3 separate regions of the Homo sapiens genome follow, and all the other regions are linked to region 2. The links are contacts of gene promoters, found by promoter capture Hi-C in blood cells and fetal thymus (Javierre and others, 2016). All regions are on one chromosome and are shown on one strand. The core of a region is centred on a gene start or on the middle of the fragment in contact, and the rest is flanking DNA. Distances in the headings are between cores, read along the strand shown. Region 1 holds the start of PIANP (PILR alpha associated neural protein). Region 2 overlaps C1RL-AS1 (C1RL antisense RNA 1). Region 3 holds the start of GNB3 (G protein subunit beta 3).

Region 1 (3,778 bases), core at 884-3,383, 410 kb before region 2:
AGTGGGAGAAAAACTACAGAATATAATTTTTGCTCTTAATGTTTAATCATCCAAGTGCATAGGTGCCCTCTGAAGGGAGGTGGAGTCAGGAAGAAACCACCCCCTCAAATGTGGCTCTCCTGGGTAAAGAATCCTGGGAAAATCGGGATGGTTGGTTTTGAAAGAGAAAGGGTGTGTTCTCAGAGCTGAGGGTGGTGGATCCAGGAGGGGCAGGCTCCCCAGAGGGAGTGAAGATAGGATACCCGTTTCCTGTGGATTCTGGGTCTAAATCTGCCCAATGGGCCAGACGCAGTGGCTCACGCCTGTAATCCTAGCACTTTGGGAAGCCAAGGCGGGTGGATCACCTGAGATCAGGAGTTCGAGACTAGCTTGGCCAACATAGTGAAACCCCGTGTCTACTAAAAATACAAAAATTAGCCGGGGGTAGTGGTGGGCGCCTGCAATCCCAGCTATTCAGAGGGCTGAGGCAGAAGAATCCCTTGAACCTGGGAGGCGGAGGTTGCAGTGAGCTGAGATCACACCATTGCACTCCAGTCTGGGCAACAAGAGCGAGACTCCGACTCAAAAAATAAAATAAATAAATCTGCCCATTGAATCTTCCCAGAGAACAACAAGGGAACAAGATGGGAAAGTCACGGGAAGGGCGTGGGGAAGCAGGCAGTGGGAGAGATGGGAAGGGGTGAAGGGCTGGGAGATGGAAGGCTGGTTAAGAGTGAGAGAGGAGAAATGTGAAGAGGAAGCTGGCCTGGAGTGCAGGGTGAGAGAGAGCAGGCAGTCCTGAAAAAGAGAGAACTGGGAAGAGAGGAGGAGAGTGGGTACAGAAGACTCGAACTGTGGAGGATGCCGAAGGGAGGAAAGGATGAGAGAAAAGGTCAGGGAGGGGAAACGGAGAGGATGAAGGGGTCACAGGTGCAGGGGAAGAAGGGGCAGGAGGAGAAGGAGAGAGCGGTCCAGGCAGGACAGCCAGAGGAGTGGAGAGTAAGGGGATGGGAGAAAAGGGGGGAAAGCCCAGGATGGGGAGAAAGGAAGTGGGGAAGGAGAGAACATAAATGCTTAAGGAAAAATGACACGAGGAACGGGCTGGGAAGCAGAGGCGGGAGCAGCAAAGATGGAGGAGTTCGGAATTGCTCCCCCAAATGTAAAGGGATGTGGAGATACCGAAAGACATAGGGATGGGGGCATGGTGGGAAGAAGGGAGAGAGAGGGGAAAGGAAGAAAGCTAGAGGGAGGGAGCGAGGCGTGTAGAGCGAACCAGTGAAGCGGAGAAGGGCTCCCAGGGCGCATCTGTGGCCAGCTGACTCTAGGACTATCGCCCCTCCGCCTGTGCATCCCCACCCCCAGCCAGCGCCAACCCAGTCCCTGGGCCCCGCACAGCTTCAGCCGCCCCCTCCAGGAAGCCCGCAGTCCCCGGGCTGGCGCGCCACCCCCACCCCTCTCCCAGCTTCTCACCGACCTGTTGTGCGCAGGAGACGAGCTGGGGGTGGGGCAGGAGCCTCGGGGTGCGGGAGCCGGGCCCCAGCCCCAGCGTGGCCCCCATCCCACCCATCCCGCAGGCCCGCACTCCCCGCACAGGGCTGGAGAGCGGCGAGAGTGGGGGGAGACGAGGAAAAGGAGGTCGGCGAAGGGACCCCGAGGCAGGGAGTGCCGAGAGCGGACTGGGGACCCGAAGCAGGAGACTGCGCGGAGCCGCCCGCCGAGCCGAGGCGGGATGGAGGCAGCCGCGGGGACGGGGACGGCTGCGCCAGGGAGGGCGGGAGCGAGCCAGGACCGCGGAGGGATGGAGAGCCCTTCGGGGAAGGGGCGCTGGGAGGCTGGAGGCCTTGTCCCGGGCGAGGGACCGCGTCGGGAGGGGCAGGAGGCGCAGGGCGCGGAGCCGGGAAGGGCAGGGCCGGGCTCCCCGCGGGTGGGGGCGTGGGGGTCCCTCTCACTCACCTGCATGCTTGGCGCGGCGGCGCGACGACTGCGGGCGCTCGGGACTGAGCGGGGCTGGGGGGTCGCAGGAGCGGGCGGGGTGCGGGGCATGGTGGGGAGGTTTGGCCCGCGGCAGGGCGCTGGAGCGGGTGGGGGGCGGGCGCCTGGGGCGCGGGGCGGCGGCGGTGGGAGATGCTCGCCTCGGCTCGGCTCGGCTCGGCTCGGCTGGGCTCGGCGCGGCGGCTGGGACCGCTCCGTCTCCGTCTCCGCCTCCCCCCCGCGCCGGAGGCCACGCACGGTTTAACCCTCCTGCTGCCGCGCTGCAGGAGTCAAGCCAGGCTATGTCCCAGGTGGAGGGCTGAAGAGGCTGGCAGGGTCCAGCGACCGTCCGCTTCCCTGGGTTCTGATGGCAGTCTCCCCACCTCCTTCACCCCAACTCCAGGGACACCCATGGTCGCCTCAGTCAGTTTCTGAGATTCTGAGTCACTCAATGCTCTGCATTCCCAACTTTGTTCTTTTGTATTGTGTTTTGTAGAGATGAGGTCTCGCTGTGTTGCCCAGCCCGGTCTCGAACGCCTGGGCTCAAGCGATCCTTCCCGCTCAGCTTCCCGGAGTGCTGGGATTACAGGCGTGAGTCACCACTGCCTGTCCCCCAACTTGGTTTTGCCCGCTGTAGAAAGTGCCTGAGGTCAAGGCTGGGGGCAAGGGGTGGAGGAAAGGACTGGGGAGGAAGGACCTTGCACCATCTTTGGATTATCCCCACAGCTTGATCCCCTATTTCACTCTGGCCCTGCTACCATGCATTAAGTGGATCACGTCGAAATTCCTGGGCTTTTCCAGCACTGGAATACCTAGACTCCGTGCTGTGACTTACAAGACCCTATATAACCTGGCTCTTAGGTGGCTCTCTGATTGCCTTTCCTAAAGATTTCTATGCTTCAGCCACATGGGACCTGGTGGATTTCCTGGTTGGAGACAGGTTTAACCTGCCTCAGGGCCTTTGCACTTGCTGTTCCCTCAGTAATACATTTCCCTGGCTTTTCACAATGACTTACTGTTTTCATTCCAGTCTCACTTAGATCCAACGCCTTCTGGGAGGCCTTCCCTAATGTCTCTATCAAAAGTAGCCTCTCCTGCCCCTTCTCCCACCACCTGGATCCCATCCCTCTCTACCACACTACGCTGTTTTTCCTCAGGGCACTTCCAGGACACCACACTCTCCTCATTTCCCTCCAACCTCACTGACTGTTCTTAGTCTTCCTCGGGTGACCTCTAAATGTTGGAGCCTCCTAGGGCTTAGTCCTTGGCCATTCTCTCTTTCCACATTCTCTGTCCAGTGATCTCATCCGGTCCCAGGGCTTAAATACTATGTAAATGTCAGTGAGTCCTAAATTTATATCCAGAGCGCCAGACTCATTTATCCGACAGCCTACTTGACATCTCCACTTGGATGTCTAATAGCCATGCAAAGCTAACTTGACTAAAATAGATGTCTTGAATTCCCCCACCCCCAATCCATTTTTCTCCCAGTGATCCCCATCCTGAGGCTTCACAACTACTAGTTGTTCAGGCTAAAAATCTAGGAAACATCCCTCCCTTCCCCTTTTTTTCACTGATTCTCTCCCTGTATCTAATTCACCAACAAGTCCTGTGGGCTCTGCGTCCAAAATATATCCCGAATTCATCTCCTTCTATCTTTATTGCTATAGTCTTGGTCTAAGCCATCATGTCTCATCCAGATTATCATAATAGCTTCCTCACTGGTCCCTGCTTCTGCCCTTGTCTTTACAAACTAGTTTTTCCTATATTGATAATATTTTAAAAATCAAAAGCATGTCATGCTCTTCTCTGCTTAAAATATTCGAGT
Region 2 (4,106 bases), core at 1,113-3,612:
TTTGGGAGGCCAAGGTGGGAGGATTGCTTGAGCTCGGAAGATGGAGGCTGCAGTGAGCCATGACGGTGCCACTGCACTCCAGCTTGGGTGACAGAGTGAGACGCTGTCTCAAATTGGAAGAGCAGAGCTGCAGACAGGAATAAGAAGAACGGTAAATTTGAAGGTAAATATAAAATACGATTTTCTTTTTAATGTCTTTAAAATATGTAGAACTGTTCCAGGCAAAAATTATAACATTGTATTGTGAGGTTTATAACATATGTAGCTGTAACATATATGAAGACTGTAGTATAAAGCAGGGGTCCCCAACCCCTGAGCCGTGGACCAGTATTGGAGGTGAGTGGTGGTGAGCAAGCAAAGCTTCATCTGTATTTGTAGCTGCTTCCCATCACTCACATTACCATCTGAACTTCGTCTTCTGTCAGCAGCAGCAGCAGCAGCAGCATTAGATTCTCATAGGGGCACGAACCCTATTGTGAACTATGCATGGAGGGATCTAGGCTGTGTGCTCCTTATGAGAATCTAATGCCTGGTGACCTGTCACTGTCTCCTATCACCCCTAGATGGGACCGTCTAGTTGCAAGAAAACAAGCTCAGGGCTCCCACTGATTCTACATTACGGTGAGTTGTATAATTATTAATATTTCATTATATATTACAATAACAATAATAATAGAAAGAAAACATGCAATGAATGTAATGTGTTTGAACTATCCTGAAACCATCTCCCTCTGGCCCCATCCCTGGTTTGTGGAAAAACCGTTTTCCATGAAGCCAGTCCCTTGTGCCAAAAAGGGTGGGGACTGCTGGTATAGAGGACAAGGGGGTGGACTCATGGTTACAAGTTTCCTTCATTTCACATGAAGTGGTACAATAGGAACTGAGAAAACTGGAGTTTAGGATGCAGACTAATTCCCAGAGCAGCGGGTCTCCACCCTGTGGTGTGGGAAGACCCACAGGCCCTAAGATCCTTTCACGGGGTCTGTGAGGTAACAAAATGACTTTCATAAAAATACTCAGATGTTCTTTGCTTTTTTCCCTCTCATTCTGTCATGGTATATGGTGGATTTACAGAGGCTACGTGATGTGCAATGATTCATCCGTGGCAGTGAGCGGGATGCGTGCTTGTGTATCTTTGTGATTTAAAATGTTCTCAATTTTGATTTCTAGTACAGTGACTATTAATAGATATACCCTACATAAGCCAAAGCTCTCTGGAGTTCTCAATAATTTTTTAAGGGTATAAAGTTTGAGAACAGTTGCCCTAGGGTGACTACTAGTAGAAAAAAGCAAAGAAGTATAGCTGAAAGGCCGATGTAGAAATGAAAATGGATGTCTGAATTTGGGGGGACTTTTTTCTAATAGGGTAACCTATTAGAAATCATCCTGGTCTGTCTAGAAATGAGGTTTTCCTAGGACATGAGGTTTTCAACACTAAAACCAGTTAAGTTCCCCGACACGCCAGGACAGTTGGTCACCTTATTGCTAACACTTCAATCATTTACTTCAGTTCCCTTTCCCTTACCCAAGTGTCCCTAAAGAGCATAGGCCACCTCTGCTCTATGTTAAGGCCCCCAAGTGCAGGTAAGGGAGCTGGGATTCCTGGCATGCTAAGTAAAGGTAGCAAGCTACCAAATTGTAAGGATACTATGTTTACAAATATAGAAAGCACCCGTGAGAAAAATCTAAAATAACTGCTTCCTATTAGAGTATGGGGTTGTGGATGATTTAAACCATGTTTCTCTGTTTAGTAAAACTTCTTTAATATTATTTAATAACTTTGATAGTTACAAAATAAATGTATCTGAAATTATAATTGTGACCAGATGGTCCTTTCTGAGCCAGACAGGATTAGAGAATGAGGGGATGGATCCTTTAATCGGCATCTTTAATCCACATGATTAATGAAGAAGTTTTTGTCCTTGCATATAAACTTAGGCCAGGCATGGGTCTTTCCAATCTTAGCTGGGCAAACAAGGTTGGGGTGCTCCAGTGACTTTATTTTTGGTTTTATTTTTGAAAATCGTGTTGGTGCTGCCCCCTTCTGTCCTGAAAGGGGAAGGGCAGGACAACAGAAAGTGCCTTGGGGCTTCCTGGCCAGGGAGTTTCTCTGCAGCCTTCATGAGCCCCCAGCATTTAGAGAGGAGCTTGCCCTCTCCTGGAATCCAAACAGCCACAGGAGAGCCCAGGCAGAGGAGTCTGGGGCAGCACGAGCCATTTCTGTCCACAGCTTCCCTGTCTTATCTCTAGATACCTTGCCCTGGGCTGGGACACGTGGGGGCTTTTGTGCCCAGTGCCAGGTGAGGAGGGAGATACAGGAGCGAGGTGAAGAGCAGCAGGGGTGATGAGGCGGCTGAGTCAGCCAGACTGGGACCCTTTGCTTCTGTCTGGCATGGCCAGTGGAGATGTGGACAGCCCAGGGCAGAGGGGTGACCCTAATGGGTCACACTCCTCCACCCCCAAGTTATCTCAGGCTTTCATGTCAGGGCCTTGACTTCCATGCCTTATGGACACCTAGGCAGTCGCTAGCTCAACCCCAATGGAGTGTCAGCCACTAGGTTTAGCCCTTAAGCCCATCCTCCCTACTCTGCCAGTATCTAAAATCTCAATCAATCGTGCCCCTTCCCAGGTTAAAACTTTTCAATGACTGTGCCTCCTGATCCATGAGATGAAGCCCCAGCCACTTGTTTGTCTCGTCAGGTTCTTCCTTCATAATCAGGCTCTGCATGACTTTCTGGCTTCGCTCTCCACCGCTGCCGCCTCGCATGTGTGTTCCAGGCGCGGTCATGATGCTATGGCTTCACAAACATGCCTTGCGTTTGCATGTGTGACTCCCCGACCAATGCCGTGTTCTTCAGTCATCAGCATAACATGCTGCTTAAAGGAGTGGGCTTGTGTGCCACACTCACCAGGTTTAAACCCAGGCTCTACCATTTAAAAGTTTGGTGACCAAGGCCAGCTTACATAATTTCTCTGTGCCTCTTAACATCCTCATCTGAAGAACAAGGATGAGGACAACGGTACCCACACCAGAGGGTTGGTGTGAGGGTTAAATGAGTTAATAACCAGAATTGCTTAGGGCAGTGTCTGTCATTTGGCAAACAATAAATATCATTACTTGCTTAGGAAGCAGAATAGAATAGCAAAATGGTTAGATCAGTGGTACTCAACAAGGAGCAGTTTTGCTCCCCAGGGGATATTTGATGATATCTAGAGATTTCTTTTTTCCATTACTGGCATTTAGTGGATACAGGCCAGTGATGCTGGTAAGCATCCTAGTGCACAAGGCAGCAGGTCCCACAACAAAATGTTACCTGGTCCTGAACGTCAATAGGGGCGAGGTGGAGAAACTGAGGGTTGGGTGGTCAGGCTCCAATCTGTTTGGGTTCAAATCCCATCTCTGTCTTTTATTTCATGTATAACCTTTGGCAAATTACTTAAAATTCTCTGTTCCTTAGTTTTCTTATCTGTAGAATGGGGACAATAACCTGTGCTTGGGTTCCTGAGAAGAGTCAGCGTTCGGCATGTAGTACTCATGCCCTGGATGCCGGCCATTTTTACTCACCTCTCTCCCCGTGTCCTCTCCTCTGGGAAGCCCTCTTTGACTCAGAGAAAATGACTTTCCCTGTGCTCATGGACTCTTGATGCATGATAACCTCCTGCCCGTGTGTCTGTCTTTCCCACAGGGCTGTGGGTTCCTTGAGGGAGGAATTTTGTCCTGCAGGCTGTGGCAGCCCTAGGACTCAGCACATCTAGGTGTCCACCTGCGTCTGTGGGTGAGTTCTTGGGATGGGGCAGAGTGGGGAGTATGCACCAGGTTTTGGAGTTTTCAAGGTGTGCAGGGAGGAAGAGAAGCAGGTGGTAGACAGGTGCATCTGGGAGATGGGGTTGGGTAGAGTTTGAGGGTCTGAACACGGCCCTGCCCCATTTACTATTCTCTAGTGAGAAGCCTGATCATTGCCACGTGACCGCCTCCTCACTGTTGGTACCTGGTTGTAGAGAGCAGCTCTGTGAGTAGAAGGAGAAGGATCCTGCCCTGGAGAGGGCCTGGCTGGTCCTCACCTGGGGCCTATCATTTAGTAACAGGGCTTCTGGAAGTGGTAGCA
Region 3 (4,148 bases), core at 1,350-3,849, 270 kb before region 2:
AGTCCTTCCTCTTTGCAGCGAGGTGAGCACAGTGGCTGGCGCACAGATACCAGGGCCGCCTTGACTGGGGCTCGGATTCTGAACCTTTCTGAGGTTTAGTTTCCTAGACTGGGGTGATAATAATAGTACGTATTTTAAAGGGTCATTGTAGGAAGTAATTTAGGTAATGTACCTAAAAGAATGAGGCAGCGCCTGGTAATGATAAGCAATTAATGAATGTTAGGTGGGAAATTTCCGGACACCAGGGGCTAGGATTGGGTAGGAGGAGAGGGGCAGTGATTGTTCATCTGGGTGTGGGGTGTGAAAATGGTTCCAATATCTGTATCCCCTTCTGCATAGAGTCTGGTACTGCATGCACAGCCCCAGATTGCTTCAAGCCCTGGATTCAAAGGGCTGAGTGGGAAAAATCAGGGTACCAGGGGTCAGGAACCAACAGGAGACCATCCGTGGAGACCCCTTTTTCCTTTGGTTCCCAACTCCTCTTGCATTTTTGCTCTGCAAGTTGAAGCTGATTTCTCATTTGCCCCAAGCTAGTCCCTGAATTAAGGAGTAGGAAGTGGTAGCGAGAGAGCTGATCCTCTCTGTGCCCCTGTCCCCATCCTGCTCTAGGGAGTGAGGGCCAAGTTCTCTGAGAGAGCCAATCCCTGGAGCTGAACCTGCCCTCATCCCTCCAGGCTCGGGTGCGTCCTCGCTGTGGGCGCCTTGTGGCCTTCAGCTCCGGTGTCGAGAATCCCCATGGGGTGTGGGCCGTGACTCGGGGACGGCGCTGTGCCCTGGCACTGTGGCACACGTGGGCACCTGAGCACAGGGAGCAGGTAAGGAGCGGGGTAGGAAGGGATGTGGTTCTCCTGGTGCGTGAAGGGTGGGCAAGGAGCCCCCGAGAAGGCTCACAGTCGGTGAGGGTCAGGGGCTGAGCTGACCCAGGGAAGGTGGGTGCAGGGAATGGGCCACACTCTCCTCCCCAACCCCAGGAGTGGATAGAAGCCAAAGAACTGCTGCAGGAGTCACAGGAGGAGGAGGAAGAGGAAGAGGAAGAAATGCCCAGCAAAGACCCTTCCCCAGAGCCCCCTAGCCGCAGGCACCAGAGGGTCCAAGACAAGACTGGAAGGGCACCTCGGGTTCGGGAGGAGCTGTGAGTGGCTGAGCCAGCTCCTTGAGGATGTGGCCACTTGACTTGTGGAAGGCCATCTTGATGCCAGGACACACAGGAAGCCCCTGTGTGACATCAGGAGCAGAACAGCAAGCTCTCTGTCCCTGCACCCCCACCATCTTGGGGACCTACAAGGGCCTGGACTCAGAGGACAGTGCACAGGCTAGCCTGGAGCTCACCAGGCCTGGGGAGCTGGGACGGGGCCCCGCTGCCGGACCTGCAGCCCTGGACAGATGGGGAACACTGTGCCTCCCTGAACAGAAATGGCAGGGGAGGAGGCTGATGCTTTAAATGAAGAGGATGGTGGGGTTGGGAGGTATAACCCTGCTCCTCTCTCCCAGTCTGTGCAATAAAGGTCGTGAAGATCTCTCAGCCAGGGGCCAGTCAAGTGTATCACAGATTCTGTGATGGCTGGAGGTGGGGGTGGCTCTGGCTGGCCTGGGAGGAGACAGGTGTCTTTGGGCCTCCCAGAGGCGGGGCGCCTGGAGCCTGTGATTTGTCAGGGAAATCTCAGCCACCTGCTCCCCTCATGCAAATGACCCAAGCCCCTGGCAGCTGCTCCTTAGGCCTCCAAGTGTAAGCCCTGTCTTCCCTCTCTGAGCTTTGCTGAGACTTAGGGCCGCCTGCTTTCTCTCTGACCCCTGCTTTCACAGCCTCGAGAGGGCAAGGAGGGGGCCAGACCCCAGCCTGGGAGCAGCGTGCGGGCCTTCCCTCCACTTGAAATCCGTTGCCCGCCCACAATAGGGGCAGACCTGTCCATCCTTCTCTGTGGGTCCCCTGTACCTTTCTCCCCCAACAGGATCAGACCCAGAGGCAGCTGGTTGGGGTTTGTCGAGAAGAAGGATTATCCAGATCAGTCCTTTCTAATCTCAGCTCCTGCCTGTACCCTCCCATACTCACCAAACCCTCTTCCCCACCACCCTGAGCTGAGGAGCACAGTTTGAGGTACTGACAATGGGGCCATCTATCACCCTTATATCCCACCTCCTGGCCTGGTTGCTAAGTGGCCCTGACTGCCAAGATCATCACCATGGATGGGGGCCGGGACCAGGGGGGCCACTGGAGCTGTAGTTGTCTGCTCCTTTGCACCCCTCCCAAACCCCAACCCTTAATCCTCACAGCTTTGCTCTAATCCTGTGGGGCCTGATGCTCTTATCTCTGCCTGCAGAGACTGACCAGGGAAGCACCCCTTCACCCCCTCCTCTCTCAGGGCTTGTGGTGGGGGCTGCCCCTCTCTATGGCCCCACACTCCTGCCCCCAACCCTCCTCCCGGCTGGGCCCAAGTCTCTCTGGAATCCGTACACCTCCCTCCCTCCCCCCACCCCTTCCCCCCACCCCTGCCAGCTGATTTCATTTGCCTGACGTTGTGGTTGGCTCTACCCTTCCCTGTCAGGCCCCCCCAACCCCCCGCCGGTCGGGGCCAGGCCAGGCCAGGCCAGCTCCTCTGGCAGCAGAGCCTGGGCAGGTGACGGGCGGGCGCGGGCGTCGCAGCTGAGGGAGTAAGGAGGCTCCCAGGAACCGGAGCTGGAAACCCGGCCGAGGTCCAGCCAGAGCCCAAGTAAGAGGGAGCTGGCCTGGGCTCTGCTCTCCTGGGCTGGGGCGCAGGCAGGGCTCAGGCAGGCTGGGGCTGGACGCAAAGGACCTCAAACTTGGAGGGCCTAGCTGGGGAGAGGGTGCAGCCACCCAGTCGTTTCCCTGTGTCTTGGAGTCTGGTGTGGGCACGAAGGGCAGAAGCACAGCCTGGTGGGGGGTTCCTCAACACCGACCCCATGTTCCTGGCAGGAGCCAGAGTGACCCCTCGACCTGTCAGCCATGGGGGAGATGGAGCAACTGCGTCAGGAAGCGGAGCAGCTCAAGAAGCAGATTGCAGTAACTCCAGAGCCCTACCCCTGGGGCCCCAGAAAACAGCTGGGGACATGAGGAGCGTGGCCCAGGGGGAGGGGGCTGGGTTTGCTCTTGAGTGACTAGAAGTGACCAGGGACTTTCTAAACTTGGTTCGCATATTTGAGACCCCCAAGCCCCAGAGCCCCAAGACCAACCTGCCCTGAAGGCCCATGCACCTGCCACCCCCACCTCGCCCTTGCTCCCCTGATGTCTGCTTTCCCTGCAGGATGCCAGGAAAGCCTGTGCTGACGTTACTCTGGCAGAGGTAAGACCCCCTGTCCCCCGGAAGGCAGGGCATGGGGGGAGGGGAAGGGAGCTCCCCGACCCGCAATAGCGCGTTGCTCCGAGCATTAGTACAGCACGTCCTTGGAGTGAGGAAACCCATTAATTAATTCATTCGACCAACATTTTAGCGGGACCTGCTCTGAGCCAGGCACCATATTGGATGCGAAAGATGCGGACACGGTTCCTATTCTCATCCGTAGAACAAGAGTGACCACAGCCCCCTCCCAGGGCCTTGAAGATGAAGAAGCGATAGTACTTTGTAAATTATAAAGCCCTTGTAGACTCTAGCTGCTAGTTTTCTATGCTGTATTTTGTCAATTCTAAGATGCACATTTCTTCACATTTTGACATCTCTGAAATCAAGGTGCATTCAGCAATGGATCATTGTTTCAATTAGAATTGACAGCATCTTTTCTTTCTTAGTGATGCATCTTAGATTGGATTAAATATGTTAATAGTGAACACTTTTTATGAGCCAGATACTGGGCTAAGCTGCATAAATACCTGATTTCATTGAATTTTCATGATATCTCTGTAAGGTAGGTGCTATGATAAGCCTCATTTTACACCTTGAGTAAACAGACTCAGGGAGGTGAAGCAACTTGCCCAAGATAACAAAGCAGGCCGGGCGCAGTGGTTCACGCCTGTAATCCCAGCCCTTTGGGAGACTGACGTGAAAGGATCACTTGAGCTCAGGAGTTTGAGACCAGCCTGGGCAACATAGTGAGATCTCTTCTTAATATAAAAAAAATTGCTTTTAACTTTTTAAAAAAAGATAGCAATGCAAGTGATGGCAAATCAAGTCTGTTCACTCTGGACCCCCAGCCTA

Evidence for each region. The method cuts DNA at HindIII sites, captures the fragments that hold promoters and counts their contacts. A CHiCAGO score of 5 or more calls a contact.
Region 1: the fragment with the promoter of PIANP here is called in contact with a fragment that was not itself captured in region 2 in 2 of 17 cell types (non-activated CD4 T cells and naive B cells); the score reaches 6.0 in non-activated CD4 T cells.
Region 3: a contact is called between the fragment with the promoter of GNB3 here and a fragment that was not itself captured in region 2, in 5 of 17 cell types (non-activated CD4 T cells, activated CD4 T cells, naive CD8 T cells and 2 more). The highest score is 8.8, in non-activated CD4 T cells.

The regions. Positions count from the first base shown.
Region 1 is chr12:6,698,682-6,702,459 of GRCh38, forward strand. It overlaps PIANP (PILR alpha associated neural protein), which reads right to left and starts at 2,134. Exons shown (of 5, transcript NM_001244014.2): 1 at 1,933-2,134. RefSeq lists an enhancer at 914-1,415. The HindIII fragment of the contact is 12,862 bases long and covers 1-3,778 here.
Region 2 is chr12:7,111,444-7,115,549 of GRCh38, forward strand. It overlaps C1RL-AS1 (C1RL antisense RNA 1), which reads left to right. Exons shown (of 12, transcript NR_026947.1): 5 at 1-163; 6 at 564-621; 7 at 3,687-3,776; 8 at 3,943-4,106. Among named protein-coding and RNA genes, the nearest start is that of C1RL, 4.3 kb to the left of the region's middle. RefSeq lists an enhancer at 1,824-2,325. The HindIII fragment of the contact is 4,009 bases long and covers 359-4,106 here.
Region 3 is chr12:6,838,326-6,842,473 of GRCh38, forward strand. It overlaps GNB3 (G protein subunit beta 3), which reads left to right and starts at 2,600. Exons shown (of 10, transcript NM_002075.4): 1 at 2,600-2,708; 2 at 2,933-3,019; 3 at 3,261-3,299. The coding sequence starts at 2,963. P3H3 (prolyl 3-hydroxylase 3) reads left to right here. Exons shown (of 15, transcript NM_014262.5): 14 at 675-815; 15 at 972-1,522. The coding sequence ends at 1,136. The HindIII fragment of the contact is 12,557 bases long and covers 1-4,148 here.